Regions from separate parts of the Homo sapiens genome. Here regions 2, 3, 4, 5 and 6 are each linked to region 1. Evidence: promoter capture Hi-C in 16 types of primary human blood cells and fetal thymus (Javierre and others, 2016). All regions are on one chromosome and are shown on one strand. Each heading gives the region's core, a stretch centred on a gene start or on the middle of the fragment in contact. The rest is flanking DNA. Distances are from core to core; before and after follow the strand shown. Region 1 holds the start of TDRD10 (tudor domain containing 10). Region 2 holds the start of SHC1 (SHC adaptor protein 1). Region 3 overlaps LOC105371449 (a long non-coding RNA gene). Region 4 has its middle 21 kb from the start of KCNN3. Region 5 overlaps KCNN3 (potassium calcium-activated channel subfamily N member 3). Region 6 overlaps KCNN3 (potassium calcium-activated channel subfamily N member 3).

Region 1 (3,247 bases), core at 497-2,996:
GGGCTCTTGACTTCAACCAGGGAGGTAGCATGTTTGAAGCCTGGGCAAGAGAAAATTAAAGCTCCCATGCATGTTAGGAAGTGATTGCCTGGACCGGAGTCTGAAATCTCGATTTGAGCTCTTCTCTCTCCCCCTTTCACATCGGAGAGAAGATAAAAACAACCAGATCGGACCAACTCATCTCAGCAAGAATGGAGGGAGTCCCTTCCTATGTTCACACTCCTTTTCTTAACTTTTCCACATTGGACAGCACCCAGAAAACCTCCAGTGTGTCCGTCGCAGGAAACACCCTCTCTTCTCATCTGTAATTTCCTTGAGAGCATTTCCTTGTCATATTCTGTATCCTCCACAGCCCTTAATGCCCTGTGCTCCTTTCCTCATATGGCTGCTGCGCAACAAATGCCCATGGAATGAATGAAAGGGCAGCAGTCTTGGAGATTTGCTGAACCTCCGAGGAGCCCTTTACTCGGTGGAACCGCAGAAAATGATGGAACTTCCAAATCAGTGGAGAAGACTGTTGGTTAAACCATTTCCTGAAGCTTTGAAATGCATATCTACACACTTGAGAGGTTACCATTCCTTATGCTCAAGAAGCATAAAAGTCATACACAAGCCTAGCTTTGCAATTCCCCTGAATATCAAAATTAAAATGAACCACATCTATAAAGGGGTCAAATGTAACCAAACAGGAATATCTCATTCAACGACTCTTCTAAACTGCTAACAAAATTCAATGGCTAGTACATTTCTGCAAAACTCCCCACCTCTAAAATAAGAGTTTTTCAAGAATTAAAAAACAGTCTAAGAATTTTAAATGGTCAGGAATTCCCAAATGGTGGAGGGAGAAAGGACCTTAGGAAACCTATCCTCACTGCCTCTTAGGTCTAAAGAAGCCTAGGGCTTAGCAGGCGCCCAGGGCTCCCCTTCGACTGAGAGGTGGTCCAAGGGAGGCTGTATTCTTACCGTCTCTTGCTGCTTAATAATCTTGCCCTTGTCCAGCTCGGGCCCCAGGGAGGAAGGGGAAGAGGACGCGGAGGAAGAGGAGCTGGAGCTGGAGCTACTGCTGCTGGGGTAGTTGCTCTTCCCGTTCTTCTCCTGAGTGTCCACCTTGATGAGCCTGTTGATGTAGGTGCTGCAGCCCGAGCTCTTGGTTGCACCCCGGTGGGGCTCCTCCTCCGTGGCCCGGGAGTTTTTGCGGCCCTTGCCCGCGGCGGCCTGAATCAGACCCTGCAGGCTGTCGCGGGACAGCCGGCTGTCCTTGGGGCCGACGCCGGCCCTGCCGCTCCCCAGCTCGGCCGCCGAGTTCTTGCGGCCCTTGCCAGGACCCGGCCCAGCGCCGCCCGCCTCCGAGTTCTTGCGCAATTTGCCGCCGCCGCCCCCGGGCTTGGCCCGCTCCGACACGGTCTTCAGGTTCAGGGGGAACTCCTTGAACCACTTGGCCGCCATGAGGGGGCCCCGGCCGGCTCGGCCCAGGAGCGTCGGGGCCGTGGAGCAGGCGAGCGAGGAAGCCCAGCCCAGACACGCAGAGGCGCCAGGGGTCGGGGACCACTGCATTCCCCGTGACTGGGGCGCTGGAGGCCGCGGCGAGGCCCCGCGACGGCTGCTCCGTGCGCCCCCGGCCGGCCGTCGCCCACGCCCGGCAGGGTGGGGTTCTCACGGCTCGGGGCGCCGAGCGGGCGGGCGCTAGCCTCTGCTCCGGACACGGCAGGCGACAGGCACGACGCGCGGGGGGCCCCGCCCGGGCTCGTCTTCAACGCCTGCCCGGCCCGAGGACACCGTGGCTCTCGGAGGCGGCGGGCGCCGGGGGCTTCCCCCTGCTCTTTCCTCCTGCGGTGGGAGAGGCCAGGCCCACGGAAGCCCCCTGCGGCCCAGCCCACGCTCCCAGGGACCAGAGAGGACCGAGCGGAGGCGGCGGGAGTATCCCCGGCGCAGCGACAGACGGTGGACGGACGGCGAGCGGCCCATCAACTCCGCGCGCCCCTCCCCTCCGCGGCTGGCGCCTCCCAGCCCCGCCACCTCCTGCCCAGAGCTGGGGGCGGCGGGGTGAGCGCCATGGCAGAGGCGGGTCGGGCTGCGAGCTCTGGAGAAAGGGGCGGCGGCCGCACGTGCGGATCGGCCGCGCCCCACTGAGCAGAGAGCCCCCTTCTGCCGCCGACAGCCCGCGTCTGCACCGAGCCGGTCTCGGCCGGGCGCTGCCTTCACACGCGCCCAGGAGTGTCACGTGCGCCGCTCACCCCCGGGAAGGAAGCCCCTCGCCCACCCACTCCGCTCTACTCCACTCTTTCTGCAGACGTTATTTTTGGCGGTAGGGCAGAGGTTGCGGCCCGAGGTCCGGGCGCAGGGACAACGGTCGCCAGCTCCTGCGCTAGTTCCGTTACTCTTCGGTGGCACACGGTCCTGGGCAGCGCGAGGCTCTTCCCGCCGTGGCCGCCGGGGATTGGCTGCCGGCAAGCCCCGCCCCGTGCCCCCGGGCTCAGAGGGGGCGGAGCGCGGAGGGAGAAGGCGCGAAGGCTGGGCGTCGCGATCGCAGGTGCACGCGCGTGGCCCGCGAGACGAGGTATGGCTTGTCGGCCCCAGGTCCCGGGATGCCAGGCGAGGGTTGGGAGGGAGGGGCGTCGGCAGGCAGCCATGGGAAACGCCCTCGTCCCGACTGATGGGGGAAAGGGGTCGCTGTTCCCGCGGGGCCGTCGCTCGCTCGCGCCGGTTGGGAGCGGCCCTCCTAGTCTGGATTTGTGCGGGCGGGGAGTGCCGTGTGCAGAACTGTGGCCACTTTAAGGGAAAAGACGCCTCTGCCATTCCTCCCTCCCTTCGAAGCCCTTTAAAAGCTTTCTGAGGCCGGGCGCGGTGGCTCACGACTGTAATCCCAGCACTTTGGGAGGCCGAGGCGGGCAGATCACCTGAGATCAAGAGTTCGAGACCAGCCTGGCCAACATGGTGAAACCTGGTCTCTACTAAAAATACAAAAATTAGCCGGGCGTGGTGGTGCGCGCCTATGGTTGCAGCTACTCAGGAGGCTGAGGCAGGAGAATCGCTTGAACCCGGGAGGCGCAGGTTGCAGTGAGCTGAGATCAAGTCACTGCACTCCAGCCTGGGCGACAGAGCGAGACTCCGTCTCAAAAAGACAAAAAACAAACAAACAAAAAAACACCTTTCTGGTTTAAAAAAAGAAATTTAAACTTAGTTTACTGAACGGAAATCTTTTGGTTTAGCAAACTAAATGTGCTGAAGGGGCTGACCAACACTGAGT
Region 2 (3,247 bases), core at 278-2,777, 470 kb after region 1:
AGTAAGAGGCGGAATCACTACCTCAGCTTTCTCTCAATCCCCTTTACTACGCAAAGATCAGCCCCCAGCAGCAGCACCCAAGTGACCCACTCCCCTCCTCTGTTTCCCATGGCCTCACTAATCCCAGGACTCCCACAATCCACTCCCTCCCCACTAACCTGGTGACCTGAGTCCGGGTGTTGAAGTCCAGGGCACGCATTGACTGGAGGACCTCCACACAACCCATGTACTAAGGGGAGGGAGAAGAGGACAGCAGGTCAGCGGCTCCCCCACCCCAGCCCCTTCACAAAGGGCCCTAGGACTTTACCCATATGGTCCCTAAGGGAAGTAAAGAGGAAGAAGTTCTGCCCACTTCCCGTGGCTACATCCCACAACCAAGGTGAAAGACAACAGGGAATGAGGAGAAAAAGAAAAGGCAGGCTAGAAGGACCTCACACACTGGGGAGAGAGTTTGGAGGGGACCGACAGGCATTGGCTGGGATGGAGTGACAACTCCAGAAAGCGGGAGGAGAATGGAGGAAAGATCAAGAAGTCATTCATTCCAACACTTATTAAGAGCTTCTGCCATGCTGGGCATTGTGCTAAGCATGCCAGGGTGGGGGTGGGGGAGTGAAAAGAAGGAAGGGGGCCCAGGCAAAGCTGGAAGGGAAGGGGCTACAGAATCGGGGAAGGGATGAGAAAGGTTTAGGAAATAGGACACTGAAACGGGGTTGTTGGGGAACAGCAGGAAAAAAGAGATTCCGGCCAAGCTGGAGTGAGCATTAGAACTGGAGGGGGTCTGCGGGGGAATGGAGAGGAGGATGTTCACTCACCCGAACCAAGTAGGAAACCCCGGGTCCCATGACTTTGTCGTTGGGATGCAGCCAGCCCCGCGTGGGCTTATTGACAAAGCTCCCGTGGCGGGTCCACTCCTCGCCCCCAAGCTGGCCCCCTTCCACCCGAGTCCTGCGCCCGCCGCCTCCACTCAGCTTGTTCATGTCCTGGAGGAGGGGTAGGGGGCCTGAGTCTGGCATGGCTGCCCCTACGATCCCCTCCCCATCATCAGCTGCCCTTCCTGGCTCCCCCTTAGACCCTGGGCGCCCCCCAGCCGGGTTGGCCAGCCTCAGGTTGCTCATCCGGGGGAAGAAGGAGCACAGGGTAGTGGGACTATCGTCCCCAGGCAGAGGAGGCAGGATGGGCCCCAGGGATGAAGCTGATGGGGAAGGCAGCTCCTCCGGGGGGGTGGACCCAGAAGCCCCTTCCTCCAGCGATGACAGAGACTCATTCCGGAGTGGATTGTACTTGGGCTTGGGGGGCAGGAGATCCATAGTTGAGGTGAAAGAGGGGCTGCTGCCCAGCCTGGCCCCCCTGCCAGTTTGGGCAAGGGGGCCAGGCAGGGGGTATCCCCAGGCCCTTAGCCTGGTTGGACCTCTGTGGCCCAGGAGTCACAGAAGTCCTGGGGAGGGAGAGGGACAAGTGGCTTCCGCTCCCCAGCTCAGACCCAGACAGTTTCAGGCCCCATCCCCGCCCAACGTGGAGCCTCTTCTCTGGCTGAGAAGAGAACAGGCTGGACCCAGCGCTTCTGGCTCCTCCCCAGGGGCGGGGAGCTAAGGGGAGAGACCAATCGTGAGGACAGTGCTGACTCACAGGCTCAGAGGGGCTGAGCCCCCACCCCGCCCCAACCTCGAACTGGAGCAGGGGGTAGGGCTATCCAAGCCCCTCTCCCCTGCCCTATACAAACAACTAGTAATCTGGGGAGAAGTAAAGTGGGGGTGGGAGGGAAGGATGGAAGAGTGGGACGGAAAGGAAGGAGATAGGAGGTCTGGGTCACTCAAAACCGGACACACGCAGGCCAAAGGGGGCAGGAAGCCAGGCAGGAGTACAGGGGAATGAGGGAGGAAACAGAGGCAGCTGGGGGTGGAAAAGGGAGGAGATCTCAGAGCTCAGCATTTCCCTTCCTGTCCTGGTTGGACACTCGAATTCCCCCACCCTCTCTATGCCCGAAAGCTGGCTGGCCCCAGCCCAGGCCACCCCCAACCGCTACCCCATACAGTAAGCCTGGGCCATTAGCATCCTCTGCTACAGCAGCTGTGGACTGGAGCTAGCGAAGTGGGGATGGGAAGTAAGTGGTCCCAATGGATGCAGAGCAGGGCCAAGAGGAAGAGCAAAGCTGGTGAAAAAAGGGGAATAAAGTTCAACCTGGATGATACATCAGGAAGCTACCAGGCAAGAAGGGAACAAGAGGACATGCTGGTCACGGCTTGTTCTCTACGTATGCCATCTACCACACCAAGACCGATGGCTCATAGCCAAGCACTGTCCTGTCTCCCCTTTCCACAGGGCTTGTTAACACAGCACACTGTCAAGGGTGAGAATGAGGCAATCAGGTCCCCACTCCCACTCCAAACCACCCCAATTCACATCCCTCCTCTTACAGGGCCCTAAGCCCCACCAAAGAGCACAGCATCCTTCACACCAGGGAAGGAGCCTGGCTGGAGGAGGTGGAAGAAACAGTTCTCCAAGAGAAGTAGAAACTACAGGCCAGGAAGGGACAGAGAGATCAGAAGACACATCTGCGTCAATAAGGACAGGAGAAAAATAAGTACAGGAGAAAGGGGTGTCAGGAGAAGATGGGTTGAAGCTGGACACAGGGAACAGTCCCAAACCCATTCCTGCCACCCACGGCTTCCTGCCACTGCTCTTCCGGAGAATGCCACAGGCAAAGCTGGAAAGTGACCAAAAAAAAAAAAACAAAGATACGTATTCCTACCGGGCGCGGTGGCTCACACCTGTGATACCAGCACTTTGGGAGGCTGAGGCGGGTGGATCACCTGAAGTCAGGAGTTCGAGACCAGCCTGGTCAACATGGTGAAACCCTGTCTCTACTAAAAATACAAAAATTAGCTGGGCGTGGTGGCGGGCACCTGTAATCCCAGCTCAGGAGGCTGAGGCAGGAGAATCGCTCGAACCCAGGAGGCGGAGGTTGCAGTGAGCCGAGATCGAGCCATTGCACTCCAGCCTAGGTGACAAGAGCAAAACTCCGTCTCAAAAAAAAAAAAATACGTATTCCCCCCAGCTCACCTTGGAATTACCCTTAGATTTACTTCAGAGAATTAAAATATAGATAGATAATTATCCTGATTAACAACATTAACACTTGAAGTGTGTTAGATGCTGTGCTTAACTCTTACATCTCCCCTTAGTGCTCATTCCAGAAGAGCTTTGTCACTCTGCCAGCCAATCCTGAGAAGGAATTTTATCACTTCAT
Region 3 (3,247 bases), core at 432-2,931, 410 kb after region 1:
AGGTGCTGAGAGTAACTTTGCCAAATGGATCCAAGTCCTTGGCCCCCTGCCCTTCCTGGCACACTCAGCCAATACTCAACAGAATTTATAGTGCGGTTCCTGGAACATCCCAGATCTGCTAGAACAATGCCCAATCCAATCCAGCTGTCCTGAGGACAGCCAGCCACTGCAGCAGAAGAGCTGAGGAGCCAAAGCTACCACTGGCTCAGTTCTAATATGCCTGGAAATTCACCAAAGGTGTCACGGCAGAAGGACATTGCTGGGCATGTCCCATTTAGCAGACACAGTCAATGCCCAGATGGAAAACAGCCACAGTGAAGGGCAGGGCCTCCCCCACCTCAGGAATCTCAGCCTCAGCACCCTAGGAACAGCAAGTCCAAGTCTGTTCCCATCTCTCCCACCCCATCATCCTCTAGCACACAGCATTATTCCCTTCTGGGAAGTGACTCTGTGGCTTCCTCATCCTGGTACAGCTTGATTCACCTAAGCAGGACATGCCAGGTGGAATAGGCAGGTGGCCTGGCCTCTTCAGAGTAGGCTGGACAAACCCAGGAAGCAGGGAACTGGGCTGAACTCCCATGGGCTCAGGCTGAGCCGTCTCTGCCCTCCTCCGATAAAGGGCACAGGTTCATGCTCTCTGAGACATTTAGGGTGAGGGAAGGGCACGGAGTGGGGAGTCAGAAGCCTTGGGGCCAACTTTTGGCATTGCCAGTCATTGCCGCTTGACCTTGAGCAAACCACTTCCCCTCTCTGAGCCTCAGTTTCCTCGTCTGTAAGCAAGAGGTTTCGAGCTAGATCACTGAGGTCCATTACAATACTCACTTTGTGTGACATCACATATCTAGGTGGTGATCTCTCAGAAAGTCTCACACAGTCCCTAACATAGGCCTTCAACAAGCCCAGAAACTGGCAAGTGTTAAAGACAAAATAACATAGCAGGAAGCAGGCATCAGTTTCACCTCTCGTCTCCTGGGGGAGCTGTCACTGCCATGAGCTTGGGCTCCCAAAGAACTTGCCTTTGGCTGGATGTTCCTGGGACTCACCTGGAAGAAAATAATTAAAATCCTAAACTGTAAAGGGGGACCCATCACTTCACTTGGCTGTCAGACAACATGACACTGTCCAGATCCTGAATTAGGCCATGAGAGTGAGAGCTGATCCCCGTCTAATGAAAGTTGTTAAACTCCCTGTCACCTGTTTATCAGGTAGCAAGTGAACAAGACAAATGCCAGCATTCATCACAGCTCAGCTGCCAGCAGGAATGTCCTGGGCATGAGAGCTGGTGGCAAGCACAGGGTGCTTGGGTCCTTCCCTCAACATCAGAGAAAAGAAAACTGGGCAAAGAAGACATCTCTCTAGTCCCTTGCAGTGTCGGGCTCCAGGCAGGGAGCTACAGTGAGAAACTGAACCCAGGAATAGACAGGAAAGCTTTGCCACCTTGGACAAGTCCCTTTGTCTCTGGGCCTTATTTTACTACCTGTAAAATGAAGATAAAAATAGTATCAGATTGATGCAAGGGATAAAATATAGTCATAGACATGTGCTGTACAAGGAGCACGCAAATGAACTGGGTGATGATGGAAAAACAAAAGAGGTGTAGAATGTGTACAATGGTGCATTGGAACCAGCTTCAGCCACCTTCTACTGGCTTGCAAGAGCCAACATTTTGCATGTTCAGGGATTTTGCTAGCCAGCTGACATCCCACTGGTAGATTGAAATCAGCCACAGTGGGAATATTTACACTACAGAAATGGTCAAACACTACAAATCAGGGCTGTTTTTCCCCTTCCAGGGAGCTGATTGTTAAACATTTGCCAGCATGTGACTGTCTATAATGAGTAAGAGTAATGCAACGGGAGGCAATTTGTTCTTGCTTCAAACACATTCGCCATAACTTAATACATCCAAATGACTGCTAACTGCTTCATGACAATAAGCTTAGGAGGTCATATTGTTTTCTAACACATAAACTTTCTTCATTGTCACAAACATGTATTGAGACCTACTGATATGGTTTGGATGTTTATCCCCTCCAAATCTCATGTTGAAATGTGATCCCCAATGTTGGAGGTACAGCCTGATGGGAGGTGTTTGGGTCATGGGGCCAGAACCCTCATGAATGGCTTGGTGCCATCCCAGTGGTAATGAGTGAGTTCTCTCTCTGTTACTTCACAGGACAGCTGGTTGTTTCAAGGAGCCTGGCACCTCCTGCTGTCTCTCTTGTTCCCTCTCTCACCATGTGACACGCCTGCTCCCCCTTTGCCTTCAGCCATGAGCGGAGGCTTCCTGAGCCCTCACCAGAAGCAGAACAGATGCTGGTGCCATGCTTGTATAGCCTGTAGAACTCTTTACTTCATAAATTACTCAGTCTCAGGTACTCCTTTATAGCAATGCAAAACCGACTAATATACCTCTACTATGTGCAATGTACCAAAGACTCGAAAGGAAAAAAACCTTTCCTTACTTGCTCACAGCATGGTGGAGGAGTGAGAAAGTGTACACTGTGGAGCATTCTGGAAATGGAAGTGGAGTGCCCCTTGCTCTGCTCAAGTTGTAGGGGTCCAAGCCCAAGCAACTAGGAAGGGTACTTTAGGCAGCATGAATGGCACATGCGAAGATACAGAGGCTTGATTACTAAGGCAACTTTTAAAAATTCCTCTCTGAGAATTAACTTTGGTAAGTTTTAGAATTATTACATTACAGGACTATTTTTCCTGGCCATAAGATGTCTCTTTCACCAGAGTTTAGTACCAAATTCCCTTTGGTCGTTTCCAAAACCCAAATGCACTTTTGGGGATGAGAATTTGGCAGAGTTGAGGGCAGGTCCTCAAAGCAAAGAGGAGCTCCCAAAGCCATTTGATAAAGGCAACAGCCCTGAAGTGTCTCAGCCCAAATGCCCAAGGTGACTACTTTAGGTTACAGCAGACAGTTGGATGCACAAGACCATTTCAGTTCCCATCTCATTATTCAATAATGCTTTACCAGGAACAATAAGATGCCAACTTTTTCCTGTTAAGACACGTCCATATCTCTGCCTTGGAGAATGCCAGGATTTGAATTTCGAAAATGAAGACAAAAAGAAGAAAGAAAATATCCAAAAGCATCCAGGCAAAAAAAGAAGGTTACCTTCAAAGGAACAAAAGTCAAGGTGACCTCATACTCTCCAGACAGTGGAACCAGGTCATGAAACTTATGCCAACCAAGTCATTGTCCAAATATAGAGGCAAGAGAATGTCATTCTCTCAT
Region 4 (3,247 bases), core at 518-3,017, 390 kb after region 1:
TCCCCCAGGCTGGAGTGCAGTGGCGCGATCTTGGCTCACTGCAAGCTCTGCCTCCCGGATTCACGCCATTCTCCTGCCTCAGCCTCCTGAGTAGCTGGGACTACAGGGGCCTGCCACCATGCCCGGCTAATTTTTTGTATTTTTAGTAGAGATGGGGTTTCACCATGTTAGCCAGGATGGTCTCGATCTCCTGACCTTGTGATCCGCCCATCTCAACCTCCCAAAGTGCTGGGATTACAGGCGTGAGCCACCGCGCCCGGCCTATGCAACCTTCTTAATATGTGACTCCATATGTTGAAGCCGACTTGAATTGGTTTTCTATTGTGTACTGCCGAAATCATCATAATCAACCTAGACTACAAGAATGGAAGCCATACGATAAAACAGTCCGGGCGCAGTGTCTCATGACTATAATCCCAGCACTTTGGGAGGCCAAGGTAGGGGAAGATTCCCTGAGCCCAGGAGTTCAAGACCAGCCTGGACAACATGGTGAGACCCTATCTCTAAAAAAGAAAAAGTATAAAAACAAAAAATAATCATGAAAAGTTTTAAAAGAAAGTACAGTTAATAGGGTATTCATGATTCTCTTCTTATAACTCAGTTGCTAAAGAGGAAAGACTTACGCATGGAGAAGTTAGAGGAAAATTCAAAGAGGATGGATTAGTTATCTATGGCTCCACAACAAACTACACCAAAACTTAGCAGCTTACACCACAAACATTTATTTATTTATTTATTTATTTATTTAGAGACAGGTTCTCGCTCTGCCACCCAGGCCAGAGTACAGTGGTGCCACCATGGCTCACTGCAGCCTTGACCTCCAGGGCTCAAGCAATCCTCCAATCTCAGCCCCCCACCACCCCCAATAGCTGGGACTACAGGTGCGCATCACCATGCCTGGCTAATGTTTGTATTTGTTGTAGAGATGGTGTTTCACCATGTTGCCCAGGCTGGTCTTGAACTCCTAGGCTCAAGCAATTTGCCCACCTTGGCCCCCCAAAGTGCTGGGATTAACAAACATGTATTGCCTCAAAGCTTTTTTGGGTCAGGAATTAGGGTGCAGCATAGCTGGGTGATTCTGACTCATAGTCTCTCATGGAGTTGCAGTGAAAATGTCAGCTGGGTTCATTTTTTTAGTCTTTTTTCTCTCTGTTTCATGTTGGGTATTTCTATTTATATGTTTTCAAGTTTACCAGTATGTTCTTCCACAATGTCTATCTGCTGTTAAACCCATCCAATATACTTTTCTCAGAGCATCAGTGAGCTTCAAATAACCTAACATATGTGTAATTGGAATCCCAGGGAATAAAGGAAGCTGGGTGGGAGAGGGGAACAGAAAAAGTACTTGAAGAAATAATGGTCAAAATTATTCAAAATTTTATGAAGCTATAAACTCACAGAACCAAGAACCTCAATAAACCCTAAGCACAAGAAACATAAAACTGTACTAAGGCACAGAACAATCAGATGGCTCAAAGCCTATGATAAAGAGAAAAATTTTAAAAGCAACTAGGGACATTACATGAAGAGAAACAAAGATAAGCATGACAAAAAGCTTCCTGTCATAAATAATGCATACCGGAAAATAATGGAAGAATATCTCTAAATACTAAAAGAAAAAAACACTGCCAACTTTGAATTATATCTTTTGAATATATCTTAGATGTATATTATATCTTTGAAAATATATTTTGAGACTGAAGGTAAGATAAGACTTTTTCAGCCATGCAAAAGCTAAAATAATTTATCACCTGAGATACAACAAATGTTAAAGAAGATCCTTGAAGCAGAAAGAAAAGGATAACAGATATATAAATCTACACAAAGGAAGGAAAATCATCAACATTGGCAACTATGTGGATAAGAAAAGGATAAATTAAATGGAATTATTTAAAATATTCAATTAATTCAAAAGTATGCAGAAAAAGAGGGGGAGAGGAAAAAAGAATAGAGGGGACAAACAAAAAAACAAGGCCATAGAAGCTTTAAGCGACACAATCAGCCAAGTTGACCTAACTGACGCTTATAAAACCCTCCACCTAACAACAATAGAATACACGTTATTTACATGTGCACATGGAACATGTTTACCAAAATGGCCATATTCAGGGCCATAAAACAAGTCTCAAAGAATTTTTAAAGTTTCAGGCCATACAAAGTATGTTCTTTGAACATAATGGAATTAAATTAGAAACCAATAACCAAAAGAGCTTTACAAAATCCTCAAACATTTAGGAACACAATAACACACTTCCAAATAACCCATGGTTCAGAGAAGAAATCAAAGGGGAAAACAGGAAGTATTCTAAGTTGAATGAAAAATAAAACATAACATATTTGAGAGAAGCCACAAAAGCAGTACTTAGGAGGAACTTATAGCACCAAATACCTATATTAGAAAAGAAGAAACTTCTCAAGTAAATGACTTCAGCTGGTACCGTAAGAAATTAGGAAGAGAGCAATTAAATCTTAAGTAAACTAAAGAAAAGAAATAATAAAGATCATAGTGGAAATCAATGAGATATAAAACAGAAAAACAGAAGAAAAAATCTGTAAGCCAAAAGCTGCACTTTGAAAAGATCAATAACATCAATAAATCTCTAACCAGGCTTATCAGGAAAAAAGAAAGAAGTCAAAAATTAATCAATAATCAGGAATGAGAGAGGTAATATCCCTACCAATTCTTAAATATTAAAAGGATTATAAGAAAATATTATAAACAACTCTATGCCAATAAATTTGACAACTTATATGAAATGAACAAATTCCTTGAAAGACACAAACTACCAAGGTTCACACAAGAGGAAATAAATAACATGACTAGTCCTATATATGTTAAAAAAATTAAATTTGTAGCTCAAAAATTTCTCATAAAGAAAGCCCCAGCCTCAAATTGTTTCACTGGTCAATTCTACCAAGCATTTAATGAAGAAATAATAATAGTTTTATACAAACCCTTCCAGAAAATTGAAGAGGAGAAAATGTTCCCAAATCATTATATGAGGCCAGCATCACCCTCAACCTGATAAAAAGCGTCTACTTAAAAAATCTACAACTAACAGCATACTTGATGGTGAACAGCATACTAAGTGATTTCCCCCTAAGACTGGGAACAAGGCATGTCCTCTCTCACCACCTAGTCAACATTATACTGGAGGTTCTAGCTAGTGCAATAGGATAAGAAAAAGAAATAAAAAGCAAACAAATTGAAAAAGAAGAAACAAAATGTTTTTATTCAGAGATGACG
Region 5 (3,247 bases), core at 427-2,926, 330 kb after region 1:
TATAATTCTTTCTCTCTCTCACTAGCTCTCTGGCACCAGACTGCTGCCAACCTGCCTACCTTTTACTTTGAGGTGCCATGAATTCCAGCAATGGGGCACGACACGAGCCCCACTGCCTGCCCATGTCCAAGCATGTTCATCTGAGAGCCTGGAGGAAGGCTGGAAGCCACACACCAACGTGGGCCACCAGCCTGTACAGGGCTTCAAGGAAACTGCAAGATGCAAAGACTCCTTGGGTGCTGGTCCTGCCTATCACGGGGCATGCAGTAGAGTCTCCCAAGTAGACTATCCATGGTCTAGGGGGGGTCAGGGAACCTCCCAATTCCTCCATGTGGTTATTTCCTCCATTTCTTTCTCCAAGAACATGAGGCAGCCCCATCTCAAGGCGGGAGCTCATTCCACACTAATTGATTCAAGTTAGAGCCATTTCAAGGCAGAAGGATCTCCATGGTTCCCCTACAGGTGTTGCCTCTAGGAACTCTCCACAGATTCAAACTCTACAAGGACTTACTGAGTACCTGTTATATGACAGGCTCTGAGTCTACCCATCCATCTTCATATAAACTCTCACTTAATCCTCACAGGAAGGAACTGTCCCCACTTGACAAATGAGAAACTGAGGCACGGAATGATTATACAATTTGCCAAGATCACACAGCTGAACTGTGGGAGCCAGACTTGAAACACACAGCTTCTGATTCCAAGCCCAGGATTGGTAAGGACCGCAGCACAGTCCCGGCTGAGACCTACACCCTGAGCTCTTCACGGAGGAGGTCGCTTGTTCCTGCTCCACTGAAGCCAGATTTGCTACTTCTTTCCCCCTGAGCTGCACTTGTTTCCACATCCCCAGAACTCCCGGTCCTGACCAGCTGTCCTCTACCTGCATGGGGTCAGCCACCGAGGAAGCCAGGCCAAAGACTAGAGCTGGACCGTTTGACACCATCACCATCTTTAACATCTATTCAATGAGACTAAAAAATCCTTTCTTCCTTCCAGGGTTGTTGTGAGGAAGAGCAGATAATGAACGTGAAAATACTCTCCCAGTCGAGGGTTCCCACGGGCTTAAAACAGCCTATGCAGAGGGTGGCGATACATTCGGGTTTACCCAGGAGAGTCCAGTGTATGCCTGTTATCTGGCATAATTATTACTATGAATGGTAATCATTAATATAATAATCTCAAAAGTGTCCCAGTTTAGACAATGAATCATATGATCACCCTATATATGTAGTATTTGCTGCCAAAGGGTCTGAGAGAATTGGGGCCCCCTTCCCGCCCTCTGCCCCCACACCTGCCAGCTTCCACACCCACTATGTGCACTCCATTAGCAGACACTTTGCCAGGCTCATGGGCAGACATCATTCTGCTGGATCAAAGCAATTGTTAGTAGACAGTATTTTTAGCAAGGTGGTGTCACAGTGCCTGGATTAATTGCAATTAATTATATGTCACTCCTTTAAGGTTTATTTCATCAATTATGGACAATCACGGCCATGTGCCTTGCTTGCTTTAACCCTTGGTGACTTGAATTTCTTGGCACAGAGGAGGCTGTAACCATGGAAAAGGCTGAATATCAGAATATATTTGCTACTGAGTCACTGTGTCCTGGATGTCAGTTTAGGGCTTTCCTGTTTACAAAGCATTTTCTTGCACAGTTTCCTATTTGATGCTGGGAGGTAGAGAGGACCACTCCTAACCCACAGATGGAAAAACTAAGGCTGGGAGGATTTAAGCAATTACCCAAAGCCATACAGTTAGGAAACCCCACTCTTCTAACACAGGGTTGCCAAAACATTTCCAAGTCTTCTGTATAGACTGATGAGTGTGACCCTCTGGCATCAGTGGTCAGATAGCCCCATGGCCAGGCATGGGGACAGGATCTGAGGGCGTCTGGAGGCAGACTTGCCAGGGAGGAGCCAAAGGCACCTGACGCATGTCTGCCAGGCAGAGCAGCCCTTACCTTGAGCATTTCAAGTGGCCCTAATGTCAAGAAACTCCAAGAAGAATGTGTCCGTGCCAGAAAAATATGCAAACAAGGACACCCAGCACCTTCCTTCTTTGAGTGTTGAGCAGCCGGAAGAGCAGCCAGAAGGTACCTCGTACAAGTGAGGAGATGGTAGGACTCCCACAGTACCCCTGGGTCCCTCTTGCTGTTGTAATAGGAGGAGCCAGAGGAACACCCCACCTGATACTCGACTGGCCTTAATTTGGGCTCCTGCCCCCCGTCTATTTTGCCCTGCACCGGTTACAGAATATTAGTTCTAAACAGATCTCTGAGCTCCCCTAGTCCAAAGCCTCGTTTTACAGATGGAGAGACTGAGACCCCAAGCAGGGAATGCCCCATCTCCGACCCCACTTGCCAGGGCAGAGCTGAGCAGGGACGTGGGCCTCCCCTCCTGTGGGTTCTTGCTGACTGTGGCTGGGAGTCTCAGCTGGGAACTGGGGTGCTGTCTGGAGCGTTTCTCTCACGGGAAAGTTTGCTGCGTCTTTTCTTCCATCCCTCTTTCTTACCTCCACCCTTGTCTCACTCTCCTCACCCACATTTCATCCCTCTCGCACTATTCCTGTTTTCCGGGACCAGGCTTTAAGATTGTCAGCTAAAGGGGCTAGGTCTGAAGGAAACTCGGCTGGAGCCCGAGAGCCGCCGCCCCTGGGCTCCCTCTGAGTGGCCCCTCCAGGCTCAGGGCTGCTTCATGGCACAGTCGGGGTCCTTTCTGTCTCTCTGCTCCATCACCTCACAGAGGACTTGGCACACAGTAGGCACTCAATAAATACTTGATGAATGAATGAAGGGATGCTACCCTATGGCCTGTTCCCAAGAAGAGGAGAATCGTGCAAAATCACTTCCCTGCAGGCCCCATCATCTAGGTGGGGAACAACACTTCCAATTGTGGGGAGAACTCCATCAACTTTTGTTTCCTCGTTCCACTGACTAAACAGATACTTATTTGCTTAGAACCCATTGTTTAAGCCTTTTTTTTTTTTTGAGACAGAGTCTTGCTCTGTTGCTGGGCTGGAGTGCAGTGGCACAATCTCAGCTCACTGCAATCTCTGCCTCCCAGATTCAAGCAATTCCCCTGCCTCAGCCTCCTGAATAGCTGGGATTACAGGCGCACGCCACCACCATGCCCGGCTAGTTTTTTGTTTGTTTGTTTGTTTTTCATTTTTTGTGTTTTTCTTTTTTTTGCATTTTAGTAGAAACAGAGTTTGACCATGTTGGCCAGGATGGTCTCGATCTCCTGAGCTC
Region 6 (3,247 bases), core at 312-2,811, 270 kb after region 1:
TCACGCCTGTAATCCCAGAATTTTGGGAGGCCAAGGTAGGAGGATCACTTGAAGCCAGGAGTTCAAGACCAGCCTGGCCAACATGGTGAAACCCCATCTCTACTAAAAACACAAAAATTAGCCTGGTATGGTGGCGCATGCCTGTAATCTCAGCTACATGGGAGGCTGAGGCAGGAGAATTGCTTGAACACAGGAGGCAGAGGTTGCAGTGAGCAGAGACTATGCCACTGCACTCCAGCCTGGGCGAGAGAGCGAGACTCCATCTCAGATAAATAAATAAATAAATAAATAAATAAATAAATAAATAAATAAATAAATAAAATGAAAATCCAGGACCCCTTGCAAGGAGAAGAGTCATTAAAGGCAGCTCGAGGGTGGTGGAAGGAGGTGGCTTCAGTCCTGCCCTTGAGCCTTGTTGATGGCTGTTCCAAGGAGTTGGCATTTTGTTCTACAGCCCTGGATCTCTGTCAGGCCACATCTCCCTTCTTTCCCATGAGTAGCTTCTCTGAATGACTCCCAACCACCAGCCTCCTAAAACAATGTTTCCCAAAGTATGTTCCATCAGTACAGTGCTTCTCAAACTAAGGTGCATATGAATCACCAGGTGACCTTGTTAAATGCAAATTCTGATTCATTCATTCTGGGCTAAGGCCTGAGATTCTGGGAACTCTAACAAGTTCCCAGTGATGCCAGTGCTGCTGGTCTGTGAACCAAACTTTGAGTAGCAAGGTACCAATAGTGCTTTATAATAAAAAGGATTTGCAGGCAAATACAATTAAGAAAGGCTGAACCAAACAAAAATAAATGGTTTCATTACTTCAGGACTTCTCAGAGCCTTTAAAATGCTAATAAGCATTATTAATACCCAAGAGGAGTAAGTTGCAATGTGTTATATGTGAGTTACTGATGTAACCAGAATGCTTTGATATATTGGTTTGCAAAGAAGGAACAGAAAATCAGGAAAATTCTGTGCCTTTTTCCCACCTTACTTTGGTTCCAATGCTGCAATTCTAGCTCATACTGAACCCCAACTCAGCACTCCCCTCTTTCCCATTGTCTCCTTTCAGGTGTCTGGGTACATGCCTGTCTCCTCCATCAGACCACATACTTCCTGGCACCCCTACTCCTCCTCCCTTCCCTGTCCCAGCACAGGCTCTGTACTCAGAAAGCCCCATGTGGAATACCTTTCACAGACACGGACGGTCCAGGCAGCAATGATCCACAGAGAGATGCTGAACACGAGCAGCACAGTGCCAGGGCAGATGGTCATGAGCGTCTTCATGACAAAGCGGGTGTTGAAGTTGATCTTGTTGAGGGCCCCGATGCTGCGGGACGAGGCATCGGTGAAGAGCTTGCTGTGCAGCAGCATGACTCGGGCGATCAGGTACAGGCGCAGGAACATGGGGATAGACAGGATGATGTCCACATCGGCCTCCGCCCGGGAGGGTGTGTAGGAGAAGGCCAGGCGTGCCGTCCAGAAGAACTTGTACTCGCCAGGAATGGGGTGGATGGCGCACACCAGCATCTCCAGGCTGATGTACAGGATGCGCTCGTAGGTCATGGCTATCCGCCAGTCATCCGCGCCATTGTCGATCACGAAGAGCTGGTGGGAGCAGAAAGTCCATTAGTGTGGCCAGGACCAGGAAGCCCACAGCAGGGTCCAGGCAGGACAGGTGGGGCAGGCTGGGGCAGGCTGCTGGGCTCAGGTCAGCCTGACCACCTCAGCATGCTCTTTAGGGGCCTTGCTATGTGGCAAGAGCCCTGTATGTGGAGTAGGGAGAGCTGGATTCAGTCTACCTGGGAAGCCCTGGCTAAGACACTTTGACTCTCTTGGCCTCACTTTCCTCCTCTGCAAATCGCTGCCTGAGATATAGTGATTTATAATAAGAAATAATGTACTTGGTCTTTATCCTGGTTTAGGCACAGTTCCCAAAACGCTCGGAATTTCCAAAGTGATAAGTGTCATTTGTATGCTAATGAGATGACTAGTGGCTGGGGTCGGTCGGGGTGGGGATCCAGGGTGGCCTCAGGATGGCGCTGGTTGCCAGGGGAACCAATCTGGTGATGAGAGGGTTGGAACTTTCAGCCCCACCCCACCACCTCCTGAGAAGGAAGAGGGGCCCGAAGGTTGAGTTGATCACCAATGGCCAATGATGTCATCAATTATGTCGGTGTAATGAAACCTCCACAAAATCCCAAAAAGACAGTGTTTTGTTTTGTTTTTTTAACTTTTATTTTAGGTTCAGGGGTACATGTGCAAGTTTGCTATATAGGTAAACTCGTGTTACAGAGATTTGTTGTGCAGATGATTTCGTCACCCAGGTACTATTGGGTACAGTACCCAATAGTTATTTTTTCTGATCCTCTCCCTCCCACTCTCCACCCTCAGTGTCTGTCGTTCCCCTCTTTGTGTTTCGATGAGCTTCCAGATAGCTGCACACATGGAGGTCCCTGGACACGTGGAGTGTTGCGTGCCCAGAGAGGGCATGGAAGCTCCACCCCTTCCCATGCGCCCTGCCCTTTGCTTCGCTCCCATATGGCTGCTCATCTGAATCCTTTGTAAGGTCCTTTATAATAAACCAGTAAATGTGTTTCCCTGAGTTCTGTGAGCTGCTCTAGAAAATTAATGAAAACCTGAGAAGGGCGTCCTGGGAATCCCTGATTTATAGCCACTTGGTCAGAGGCTCAGATAAAACAACCTGGGGCTGGTGACTAGCATCGGAAGTCAGGTAAATGTGGTGGGACTGAGCCCTCAACCTGTGGGAGCCAACACTAACTCCAGGCGGACAATCAGGCTTGAGTTATATTGCAGGACACTCAGCCAGTGTCCATTGGAGAATTGCTTGGTGTGTGGGAACCACCCCCTCCTTTTTGCTGACCACAAGTGTTCTATGTTGAGCCACTTCCCAAGGTCCCTTCCAGCACACAGGTGCCAAATTGGCTGTTTCACGATGGTGAGAAAGATCAACTCATTTATATTAGAAACACATCCCTGAGCCCCTGCCAGACCTGAGCTGAGCCCTGTAAGGGGATGTAAAGATGAAAAAGTCATGTTTCCTGCATGAGTGAACTCACAAGGGCTGGCACAGATTCCTTCTCCCCACTCAGAGAAGGGGGCAGCAAGTGTTTGCTGGCAGCACTGTGCTCTCAGACAGTGCAGTGAAGTGTTCACGGCACGGACTCTGGAGCCAGATTGCCTGATCCTAACACTACTGGCTCCATGATCCTGGGCAAATTACCGAACCAC

Evidence for each region. The method cuts DNA at HindIII sites, captures the fragments that hold promoters and counts their contacts. A CHiCAGO score of 5 or more calls a contact.
Region 2: the fragment with the promoter of SHC1 here is called in contact with the fragment with the promoter of TDRD10 in region 1 in 4 of 17 cell types (activated CD4 T cells, erythroblasts, fetal thymus and 1 more); the score reaches 9.4 in activated CD4 T cells.
Region 3: a contact is called between a fragment that was not itself captured here and the fragment with the promoter of TDRD10 in region 1, in 4 of 17 cell types (activated CD4 T cells, M1 macrophages, non-activated CD4 T cells and 1 more). The highest score is 7.9, in activated CD4 T cells.
Region 4: a contact is called between a fragment that was not itself captured here and the fragment with the promoter of TDRD10 in region 1, in 12 of 17 cell types (activated CD4 T cells, M2 macrophages, total CD8 T cells and 9 more). The highest score is 10.0, in activated CD4 T cells.
Region 5: a fragment that was not itself captured here is called in contact with the fragment with the promoter of TDRD10 in region 1 in 1 of 17 cell types (erythroblasts); the score reaches 6.4 in erythroblasts.
Region 6: a contact is called between a fragment that was not itself captured here and the fragment with the promoter of TDRD10 in region 1, in 1 of 17 cell types (neutrophils). The highest score is 5.5, in neutrophils.

Annotation. Positions count from the first base shown.
Region 1 is chr1:154,500,473-154,503,719 of GRCh38, forward strand. It overlaps TDRD10 (tudor domain containing 10), which reads left to right and starts at 1,747. Exons shown (of 13, transcript NM_182499.4): 1 at 1,747-2,557. SHE (Src homology 2 domain containing E) reads right to left here and starts at 1,940. Exons shown (of 6, transcript NM_001010846.3): 1 at 964-1,940. The coding sequence starts at 1,554. The HindIII fragment of the contact is 2,286 bases long and covers 538-2,823 here.
Region 2 is chr1:154,969,220-154,972,466 of GRCh38, forward strand. It overlaps SHC1 (SHC adaptor protein 1), which reads right to left and starts at 1,528. Exons shown (of 12, transcript NM_001130040.2): 1 at 813-1,528; 2 at 159-229. The coding sequence starts at 1,307. RefSeq lists enhancers at 305-855, 856-1,406. The HindIII fragment of the contact is 11,130 bases long and covers 1-3,247 here.
Region 3 is chr1:154,911,755-154,915,001 of GRCh38, forward strand. It overlaps LOC105371449 (a long non-coding RNA gene), which reads right to left. Exons shown (of 2, transcript XR_001738239.2): 2 at 1-1,043. Among named protein-coding and RNA genes, the nearest start is that of PMVK, 23 kb to the right of the region's middle. The HindIII fragment of the contact is 510 bases long and covers 1,427-1,936 here.
Region 4 is chr1:154,890,083-154,893,329 of GRCh38, forward strand. No RefSeq gene overlaps it. Among named protein-coding and RNA genes, the nearest start is that of KCNN3, 21 kb to the left of the region's middle. The HindIII fragment of the contact is 428 bases long and covers 1,554-1,981 here.
Region 5 is chr1:154,834,132-154,837,378 of GRCh38, forward strand. The region is part of intron 1 of KCNN3 (potassium calcium-activated channel subfamily N member 3); the gene reads right to left. Among named protein-coding and RNA genes, the nearest start is that of KCNN3, 35 kb to the right of the region's middle. The HindIII fragment of the contact is 3,819 bases long and covers 1-3,247 here.
Region 6 is chr1:154,770,791-154,774,037 of GRCh38, forward strand. KCNN3 (potassium calcium-activated channel subfamily N member 3) reads right to left here. Exons shown (of 8, transcript NM_002249.6): 3 at 1,185-1,603. Among named protein-coding and RNA genes, the nearest start is that of KCNN3, 98 kb to the right of the region's middle. The HindIII fragment of the contact is 5,576 bases long and covers 1-3,247 here.